Linked DNA regions of Homo sapiens: all the other regions are linked to region 3. Evidence: promoter capture Hi-C in human tissues and cell types (Jung and others, 2019). All regions are on one chromosome and are shown on one strand. The core of a region is centred on a gene start or on the middle of the fragment in contact, and the rest is flanking DNA. Distances in the headings are between cores, read along the strand shown. Region 1 holds the start of PKN3 (protein kinase N3). Region 2 holds the start of TRUB2 (TruB pseudouridine synthase family member 2). Region 3 overlaps GLE1 (GLE1 RNA export mediator).

The links. Contacts are between HindIII fragments. The study calls those that stand out against the background at their distance.
Region 1: the fragment with the promoter of PKN3 here is called in contact with a fragment that was not itself captured in region 3 in 1 of the 25 tissues and cell types used here (hippocampus).
Region 2: the fragment with the promoter of TRUB2 here is called in contact with a fragment that was not itself captured in region 3 in 1 of the 25 tissues and cell types used here (dorsolateral prefrontal cortex).

What each region holds. Positions count from the first base shown.
Region 1 is chr9:128,700,841-128,703,897 of GRCh38, reverse strand. PKN3 (protein kinase N3) reads right to left here and starts at 1,395. Exons shown (of 22, transcript NM_013355.5): 1 at 959-1,395. The coding sequence starts at 982. RefSeq lists an enhancer at 579-1,118 and a silencer at 933-1,502. The HindIII fragment of the contact is 13,608 bases long and covers 1-3,057 here.
Region 2 is chr9:128,320,924-128,323,844 of GRCh38, reverse strand. It overlaps TRUB2 (TruB pseudouridine synthase family member 2), which reads left to right and starts at 1,398. Exons shown (of 8, transcript NM_015679.3): 1 at 1,398-1,545; 2 at 2,115-2,246. The coding sequence starts at 1,437. COQ4 (coenzyme Q4) reads right to left here and starts at 1,006. Exons shown (of 7, transcript NM_016035.5): 1 at 917-1,006; 2 at 698-829. The coding sequence starts at 986. RefSeq lists a silencer at 719-778 and an enhancer at 1,159-1,698. The HindIII fragment of the contact is 10,812 bases long and covers 1-2,921 here.
Region 3 is chr9:128,540,022-128,543,060 of GRCh38, reverse strand. GLE1 (GLE1 RNA export mediator) reads right to left here. Exons shown (of 16, transcript NM_001003722.2): 15 at 2,723-2,786; 16 at 773-1,959. The coding sequence ends at 1,891. The region is part of intron 2 of LOC101929270 (a long non-coding RNA gene); the gene reads left to right. Among named protein-coding and RNA genes, the nearest start is that of SPTAN1, 11 kb to the left of the region's middle. The HindIII fragment of the contact is 3,623 bases long and covers 1-3,039 here.

The DNA of each region.
Region 1 (3,057 bases), core at 146-2,645, 160 kb before region 3:
CTGCCGCTGCAGGGCGGAGCCCCGCAGGAAATCGGAAAATGTGTACAAGCTACGTCTGGAACAGGCGGAGGGACCTCCAGAGGAAGGGGGTGGGAGGGGGCAGACCGAGCCCCAGCCCTGAAGGCGGCCTAAACGACTGGCTTGGGCGCTCAAGGAGTCTACACGCACCCCGCAACACCCCCATGGTCCCGTCTGCCCTGGGTTGGAACTCCAACATGGACACACACACCACCTCCTTTCCGCTCTTTGCGGGGACCCACTCCTGTCCGCAAATGCCCCCCTCCCAACCACTCGCTCCGGAACAGGACACCACCTCTCCCTCCTCAGGAGCAGATAGACATGGCCTCGGTCCTCCGGGCCCACGCGCACCTACTGCCAGCTCTGGCAGGAAACCCAGCCCCCTCCGCATTCTAGAACCCGCTATGTACCCAAAGGTTCCCGCCCTGGGGCGGGGGAGGCCGCTCCCCTCTCATCTACGCTCCCCTCGTGCCTCCTGTGCTCCGGGAAGGACTCCTGCCACTGCCAAGCGCGCACAGACTGCGCCCCCCGCTGCGCGCACATTCTAACCCCCCCAGGCCCCTGTGCCCCGCCTTTCTATCCCGGCTAATTCCCGTCGGCCTTGGAGCCCCACCGAGGAGAACCGACTTAAGGACACTCTGGGGACCACCCTGGTGGCGCACACTGCGGACTCAGCCGTCCTCGCTCACGGGCTGGTTGGGGTTCAGTCTCCGGGTCAGCCGCGGACTGATTTGGAGACTGTGCAAGGTCCAGGAACCACCGAACCCGGAGATCAGGTCTGCTCTGCGAGGGCGTCGCGGGGCCGGGGCCAGGGCAGGGGCAGGGAAGGGGCGCGGGTGAGGGGAGGATCGGGGGAAGCGGCCGCGGTTCGGGGCTCCGGGGCGATGACAGAGGCTTTCTCGCACCCCCCGGGCCCGCGCGCCCCTCCCACGCCGTTCACCTGCCGCGGCGCCCCCTCCTCCATGGCGCCGCTCCGGCCGCTTGGGGCCCTTCTCTCAGCCACTCCGGTCCCGGAAGCCGCAGACCCTCCGCCAGGACTTTCAAACTTGAAACTTCCCGGGAAGCGGCGCCGGAGACGCGGGATCGGGCGCCCCCTCCCGAGACCCGCTGGCCCGCGGGACCAGCGCCGCCTCCCGTCCGCGCCGATCCAGCGCCCGGGACCCCACGCCCGAGGTCCCGCGCCCCAGCGCCTCCCTCGGATCCAAAATTCCGCGGGATTCTGGGCCCAGTACCCGGGCTTCGGCGCCTGCGGTTCCCGCTGGGCGTGACCGCGCCTCACCCCCGGTTTGGACGCTCAGGAGGCACATCGCCCGCGCCCAGGTCCTCTGGCCTTCCCCGCCGCGCGCCCGCGGGAGCCGGCCAGTTAGGGACAGGGATGGGGGAAACAGCGCCCCCTGAAGGTTGCCGGGTCGCCCAGCCGGGTGCAGCCGGTGGAGCTGGCCGCCTCCTCTAACTTTGAGCCCCTCTACAACCTGGCTCCCGCCTCTAACGCGCTGGGCCTCCTCGACCAAGCCCCTCAAGTCTCTCTTTGTCTCGCACGTTGTTGGTGTAATGTGGGCTAATCCAAAATTGTCTCTCTCCTCGGAGTGGTTGGCCCAGACTAGATATTAGTCACTACAAGAATGTATACTAGGCCAGGTGCGGTGGCTCACGCCTGTAATCCCAGCAGTTTGGGAGGCAGAGGTGGACGGATCACGAGGTCAGGAGTTCGAGACCAGCCTGGCCAACATGGTGAAACCCCCGTCTCTACTAAAAATACAAAAATTAGCCGGTCGTGGTGGCGGGCGCCTGTAATCCCAGCTACTCAGGAGGCTGAGGTGGGAGAATCACTTGTACCCAGTAGGCGGAGGTTGCAGTGAGCCGAGATCCTGCCACTGCCCTCCAACCTGGGTGACAGAGCGAGACTCCATCTCAAAAAAAAAAAAAAAAAAAAAAAAAGAACGTATACTTGTGGAAAAGTAAATCCTCACCCAAAATTATGATAAATTACAAATTACAGATGAATGAACCAGACCTCTCTCCGGCCCATCTCTTACTCAGACTGAGCTTGCTGGTTCAGCCCGTGCCACTTTTTAGGGCTTTACCCTAAAAAGCCCATCCATCCACACGGGAGAAAAGCCATTTACACCTGGTGAAATAGCCGCCACTATTTCAGCCCAAGGGAGGTGTGCTGGTCACTGCCTAGTCTATGGCGGGCCATTCAGCCCGTCCTGGCATCCTGCGTTTACAGGAGGTTGTGTCAGCACTTCGTGGAGGAGCGTCCTCCAGGAGGTGGGAAGGTGATGAAGGGTCAAATACCGACAGTGACTTGGAACAGACAGGCTCTGGTGCTCTTACTGAATGAAGGAAGCCACATGTTGTGCTTTGCACTAATCACTTCCTTCATAATGGACTGGAAAAAAGTGAAATTGGTGAGCCATGGACAACACTGGGTTGTCCTGCTATGGGAAATCACCCAAGTGGCATTGACATATAAGCAAAGGCAACTTGGCTCTGTGAAACATGCCCAGATTTCATAATCAGAGGCGAAATGTGACATTTACACATTAGAGTTGTTGAGGTCTAGACATTAGCAGAAGCACCTGGCACATAGTAGGTTCTTTGACATGGGGGTTGGCTGGGCATGGTGGCTCATGCCTGTAATCCCAGCACTTTGGGAGGCTGAGGAGGGCAGATCACTTAAGGTCAGGAGTTCAAGACCAGCCTGGCCAACATGGTGAAATCCCGTCTCTGCTAAAAAAAAATTAAAAAGGCAGCTGGGCGCGGTGGCTCACGCCTGTAATCCTAGCACTTTGGGAGGCCGAGGCAGGCGGATCACAAGGTCAGGAGTTCGAGACCAGCCTGGCCAACATGGTGAAACCCCGTCTCTACTAAAACTACAAAAAAAAAATATTAGCTGGGCATGGTGGTGGGTGCCTGTAATCCCAGCTACTAGGGAGGCTGAGGCTGGAGAATCACTTGAACCTGGGAAGTGGAGGTTGCAGTAAGCCAATCTCGCCACTACACTCCAGCCTAGATGACAAGAGCAAAACTGCATCT
Region 2 (2,921 bases), core at 149-2,648, 220 kb after region 3:
GCCTGGGAATACAGCCGCATGCAACCAGCCCCAATTAATTCTTGTATTTTTTTTTGTAGAGATGGGGATTCACCGTGTTGCCCAGGCTGGTTTCAAACTCCTCAGCTCAAGCCATCTGCCCGCTTCGGCCCCCCGATAGGGATTATAGGCGTGAGCCACTATAATAGCGCCTAGCCTGTTTTTGTTAGTAGGAATAACAGTACTTCCCAGAACTCAAAAATCTAGGAGGCATAAGAAAAACACTGTAGAACCCTAGAATGTTCTAGTCACACATCCAGCAAACATTTATTGAGCATTTACTATGTGCCAGGCACTATCCAGAAGGCTGCAGATGCAGTGGAACGAGGCAGACATGGTCCTCGACCTCGGAGTTGACTTTCTAGTAGGATATTATAAACTGATCGGTACTTATGAATCATCTATTTAGTCTAGATGTTCTCAATATGGCTGCATGACAGATTCTCCCAAGTAGTTTAAAGACAGACTTTCGGTTTCACGCCCATTTCTCCCTCCACTGCAGATTCAGATTCAGATTCAGTGCGTTTAGGTGGGATCCAGGAATCTGCATTTTCATAAACGTTCCGAGTGGTTACGAGCTGCAACCAGGTTTGGGTACCCCGACCTAGGCTATGTTCCAGTTACCCACAGGAAACGGCTCCAAGCCGCCCCCACGGGGGCGAGGCGCGGGCGGCCTTACCGTGGCGGTAGGGGTTATAGAGCGCCATCGCCGCGGAGCCGGCGGCCAACAGCCCTTTCTGCAGCGGGGAGGTGGGGAGGTGGTGCGAGTATAGCGGGCCGGCGCCGTCGCTCCTAGCCCGGAGGGGCATTTCTGCGGGGCAAGAAAAAGGCCGAGGTCAGAGGAGCCGGGCGCCCTCAGGCTCCTTCCCGCCTGCGCCCAGAACCCGGCGCCACTTGCCTGCCGCAGGCCGCTGTAGGCCCGGGAGCCCGCAGAGCCGACGGAGGACAGGGCGCAGCAGAGTCGCCATGGCAGCGGGCGTCCGCGGAGGATGGGCGGGTACGAAGAACGCCGCGATTCTGTCAGGCGACGGAGCGTCGGAGGGGTCAAAACTCACTGAAAAACCGATTCTGACGGCGTAGCCTACGGCCTTTCGAGGGGAAACATCGCTTCACGGGCAGAAGGCATGTAGGCCAAGTAGGCGAAGGAAACGCACGCGAACTGTCTACCGTCTACGTCCACCGATCCAAGACTCTCGCCATGTCACCTCGCCCCAGAAAGTGTCTGCAAAGGACACGCAACCACGCTCACTCAGCGCCGGGCCCTATTTCCTTCTCCACAGCCGGTTTTCCCCGAAGACTATAAAATGCGAACCTCTTCCGGCTGTGGAACATGGCGGCGCCCGTGGAAAGGACCACATTTGGGGGCGGGGCCTGGCGGTACTTCCGTCCAGGTCCAGCGGGTGCTGTGATCTTCAAGTATGGGGTCTGCTGGCTTGTCGCGGCTGCATGGGCTTTTCGCGGTCTATAAGCCCCCGGGGCTAAAATGGAAGCACCTGCGGGATACAGTGGAGCTACAACTTCTGAAGGGTGAGTGCCTCGAACCAGACCCACGTTCCCGCTCTCGTTCTCTTGGAAGTCCATCTCCGCTTCTGGTCCTTACCCCAAAACAAAATCACGTGACCTATTCACCTGGGCAGAGCGCTTTCCCAAACGCCTGTTCTCTGTGCTTTCTTACTCCTCACTTTCCTCTGTTTTCCGAGGGGGAAACTGACTCAGTATTGTTCCTTGTCACACGGTTACTACGTTGTAGAGTCTGTTTGAATCCGCCTGTTTCTTAACTACTGCTATACTGCCCTCTGCACCATGGGCTTCTGCTTTGTCTTCTACATCATACTTCCCTGTTGTCTAATCCCCCAAGTGTTTGGACAGAACAAGATATTCCTGGTCAGCATCGTGGTGCACGCCTGTAATCCCAGCTACTCTGGAGGCTGAGGCAGGAGGATCGCTTGAGCCCAAGAGTTTGACGTTACAGTGAGCTATGATGGCGCCATTGCACTTCAGCCTGGGCTACAGAACGAGGCCCTGTCTCTTAAAAAATATTTTATATGTACATATATTTGTATGTATGTGTGTATATATTATCTCTGTGTGTTCAGGTCTCAATGCCAGGAAGCCTCCCGCTCCTAAACAGCGTGTTCGCTTCTTGCTGGGCCCCATGGAAGGCAGCGAAGAGAAGGAGCTGACCCTCACAGCCACCAGCGTACCCTCTTTCATCAACCATCCACTGGGTAAGGCAGATTTAAGCAGGATCCTGTGTGTCACTTCCCAGGAAATCCCTGAGCCGAGTCAGTGTCCCAGTGCTCAGATTCCTGTGCCAGGCCCTTGAAGGTCCACAGAGGAGTGAGGTATTAGACCAGGAATTGGCAGATTTCCTTGGAAAGGGCCAGATACTGAATGTTTTAGTTTTCAGGCCATGTGATTTCCGTTGGAACTGCTCAACTCTGCCAATGTAGTGCCAAACAGCTATAGACAGTATCTAAAGGAATGAGCCTAGCTGTATTCCAATAGAACTTTATGAATATTCATATTTGAACTTCAGGTAATTTTCACGTGTCACTAAGTACAGTTGCCTCTGAGTCCATGAGTTCCACATCCCATGATCCAGCTTCAGATTGGCAGTATTTGGGAAGAAAAACACAAAGTTCCAAAAAGCAAAACTTGAATTTGCTGTGCACCTAGTACTGTGTTGAATCCACTCAAGGTGATGCATAGGCATTATATTAGGCATTATAAGTAATCTAGCTAGGCGTGGTGGCTCACGCCTGTAATCCCAGCATTTTGAGAGGCCGAGGAGGGTGGATCATGAGGTCAAGAGATCGAGACCATCCTGGCCAACATGGTGAAACCCCGTCTCTACTAAAAATACAAAAATTAGCCGGGAGTGGTGGCAGGCGCCTGTAGTC
Region 3 (3,039 bases), core at 502-3,001:
TGAGACAGGGTCTTGCTCTGTCACCCAGGCTGGAGTGCAGTGGCATGATCACAGCTCGCTGCAGCCTCGACCTCCCAAGCTCAAGTGATCTGCCCACCTTAGCCTCCTGAGTAGCTGGGACTACAGACATGTGCCACCATGCCTGAAAAATTTAAAAAAAAATTTTTTTTTTTTTTGAGACAGAGTCTTACTCTGTCGCCCAGGCTGGAGTGATCTCGGCTCACTGCAGCCTCTGCCTCCTGGGTTCCAGCAATTCTCCTGCCCCAGCCGCCTCTTGGGTAGCTGGGATTACAGGCACACACCACCATGCCCAGCTAATTTTTGTAATTTTAGTGGAGACAGGGTTTTGCCATGTTGGCCAGGCTGGTAAGACGTGAGCCACCGCGCCTGGCCAAAAAAATTTGTTTTAGACATGGGGGTCTCACTATGTTGCCCAGGCTGGTCTTGAACTCCTGGACTTAAACAATCCTCCCACCTCAGCCTCCCAAAGTGTTGGGACTGCAGGCATGAGCCACTAAGCACGGCCTATTGTGTCTTTCAAAGATTTTAATACACTTTCACATCTCTTGCTAGATAAAATAGGGTCAGTTATTAGTACATAATTCCAAAAAAGGAAATGACAGAAAAAGAAGTAATATTCCCAAGGTGTAGGTCAAGAAGACCAAAAGGAATAAATGCATACCGCTCTATACCTGGACTTGTATACTATCATGATTTACATAGCTCAAGGCAGAGGAAATTGATCATATTGAACCAATATATCAGCAATGGGTTTTTCAAAAAACCAAGCTTTATTATTAATTTTTTTTGGCACCTTAATTAACAATTCATAGAATGGGTCACTTCAGGCCACTCAAGAGTACCAGTGAACACTCCCCCACAAACACACCCTGCCACAAGACATTTAGCACAGAGGAACAGATCCATGGCCACTGCCTCTGCAGTATCAAAGAGAATTAGTCTTTCCACAAAACAAATTTTAACAGCCAATCTCTGGATTTCTGTAGTGGCTTTAGTCAGGCATATTTATCATCATATTAGCAGTGTTCAGTTCCTGCCCAACATCTTTATTTAATCCCAATTCAATGCTTATGGATGCTCAGCTCATGTTTAATGTTGCAAGCCCCATCTTAGCCCATCTTAATTCAAACAGAAAAGAAACAAAACAAAACAAAAACAAAAAAGGTACCTGCCTGGTTCATGGATCCCTAGCCATCCAGGGACCAAATTCCAAATTAGGATGACAAAGAGTTTCCCTTAGTTCAAAATGACATGTGTTTCCAGTCCTAATCCCAGATGTTAATCTAGCCATAGTGTCACCTGAGCCTTAGTCCATGTGTATATCACATACTTCCTCTAGCTTTAGAATGACTTCACAAGCTGAGAAAGGCAAAACAACCATAACCCAGACTTGCATGTAAGTATCTGGCCTCAACTATTAAATAATACTTAAAAGGGAACCTTATGAGCCTTAGCTCTTTCTGGAAATTCATCTGAACAGGGGTGAGGGTGGGTAGGTGGGTGCAAATGGTGGGCTCCCTCCAGCTCAGAGTGCATTTGTTAAGGTATTGCCAACTTTCTGAAAGACACTAGAGACAAGGGAGGAGACCAAGTGCTAAAGACCTTTTATCACTTTTGCAAAAAACAAGAAAGGCCAACTCCATTTATTTTATCACGTGGATCTCTTAAGGAACTACCAAATCTACTAAGGGACCTCCAAGAATTTTGTGACCCATGAAAATCTCCTCTCCTAGTCACAAGGCATAAATACATAAAAATACATAATGGCAAATTTCTGAATCTGACATGACTTCTCCCAAATACAGCTGTCTTCAGTTCCTTTATTATTGCCTCTTTGCAGCAGCGGTGATGGTGGGTGATGGAGTGACATCAGGAGCGCCAGAAGGAGGAAGTCAGAAAGCCCTTGGGGACAGGAATGTCCTTGTGTTGCAAACATTTCTGGTCAGGGAAAGATGAAGAAAACAGAATGAGTTTCTGATAACAGTGTTCCCAACACTTAATGGTTAAAAGAAGCTTTGAGGAACACCATATTTCAGCCCTATGGAACAGTGAACAAAAAGGAAAAAGCCAGTAAGACTGATGGTTCTGTATAAGATGTCCACTTCTGCATGATCTGCTCCAGACAACAAATGAAATGCTCTTATTATTCCTGTCCCACTCTTGTCTCCCTACAGGCTAACCTCATCTTTCACAATCACTATTTTCACAATCGAGCTTTGAGAAGCTGAAAAGTCAGCAGGCTATCTTGGCAAACCCACTATAGTGTTCTAAATTCTTTGTCAAAATTAACCTTTTACAATCTCTTGGCACTTGGAAGTAGGGGAAGAGTCCAACTGAAAGTGCAGTTTGATCTCATGGAGAAAAGTGATGACACTTACCAATTCCCCAGACCTGAGACTAAGAAAATAACCTTGGCCAACATGCAAAAAAAATATATATTAATGAGAGGAGATACACTAAATATATTTTACTCATCTCAGCATAGCTTTCTCACAGGCAGTATAGAGAATGATACATATAAAGAAGAGGAAATGGCAGCCCTTACTCCAAAGGTTAAGAGGGAATTAGGAACAAAAAGAAGGGTTTGGAAGAACTAAGGAAGAGAGTGCAATCAGAGCATCGGAAGGTCCAAGACTTGTCAGACATAGGTGCATTCCAGCCCAACAACAGTGTGGGGCATGTTGGTCTAAGGGCATCTTACCTCCAAGAACTGCTTGAGGCGTATGAAGGAGCCCATCTGTCCTGAGCTTGTGATAGCTTCAATTCTACAGGGAGAGAAAGACACATGAATCACACCTATGATATACACCTATCTTTTGGAAACGGTGTCTCACTCTGTCACCTAGGCTGGAGTGCAGCGCGGTGGTGCGATCATAGCTCACCGAGGCCTTGAACTCTTGGGCTCAAGCGATCCTCCTGTCTCAGCTTCCCTAGTAGCTGGGACTATAGATGCATGCCATCATGCCTGGCTAATTTTTTTTTTGTAGAGATGGGGTCTTGCTATATTGCCCAGGCTGG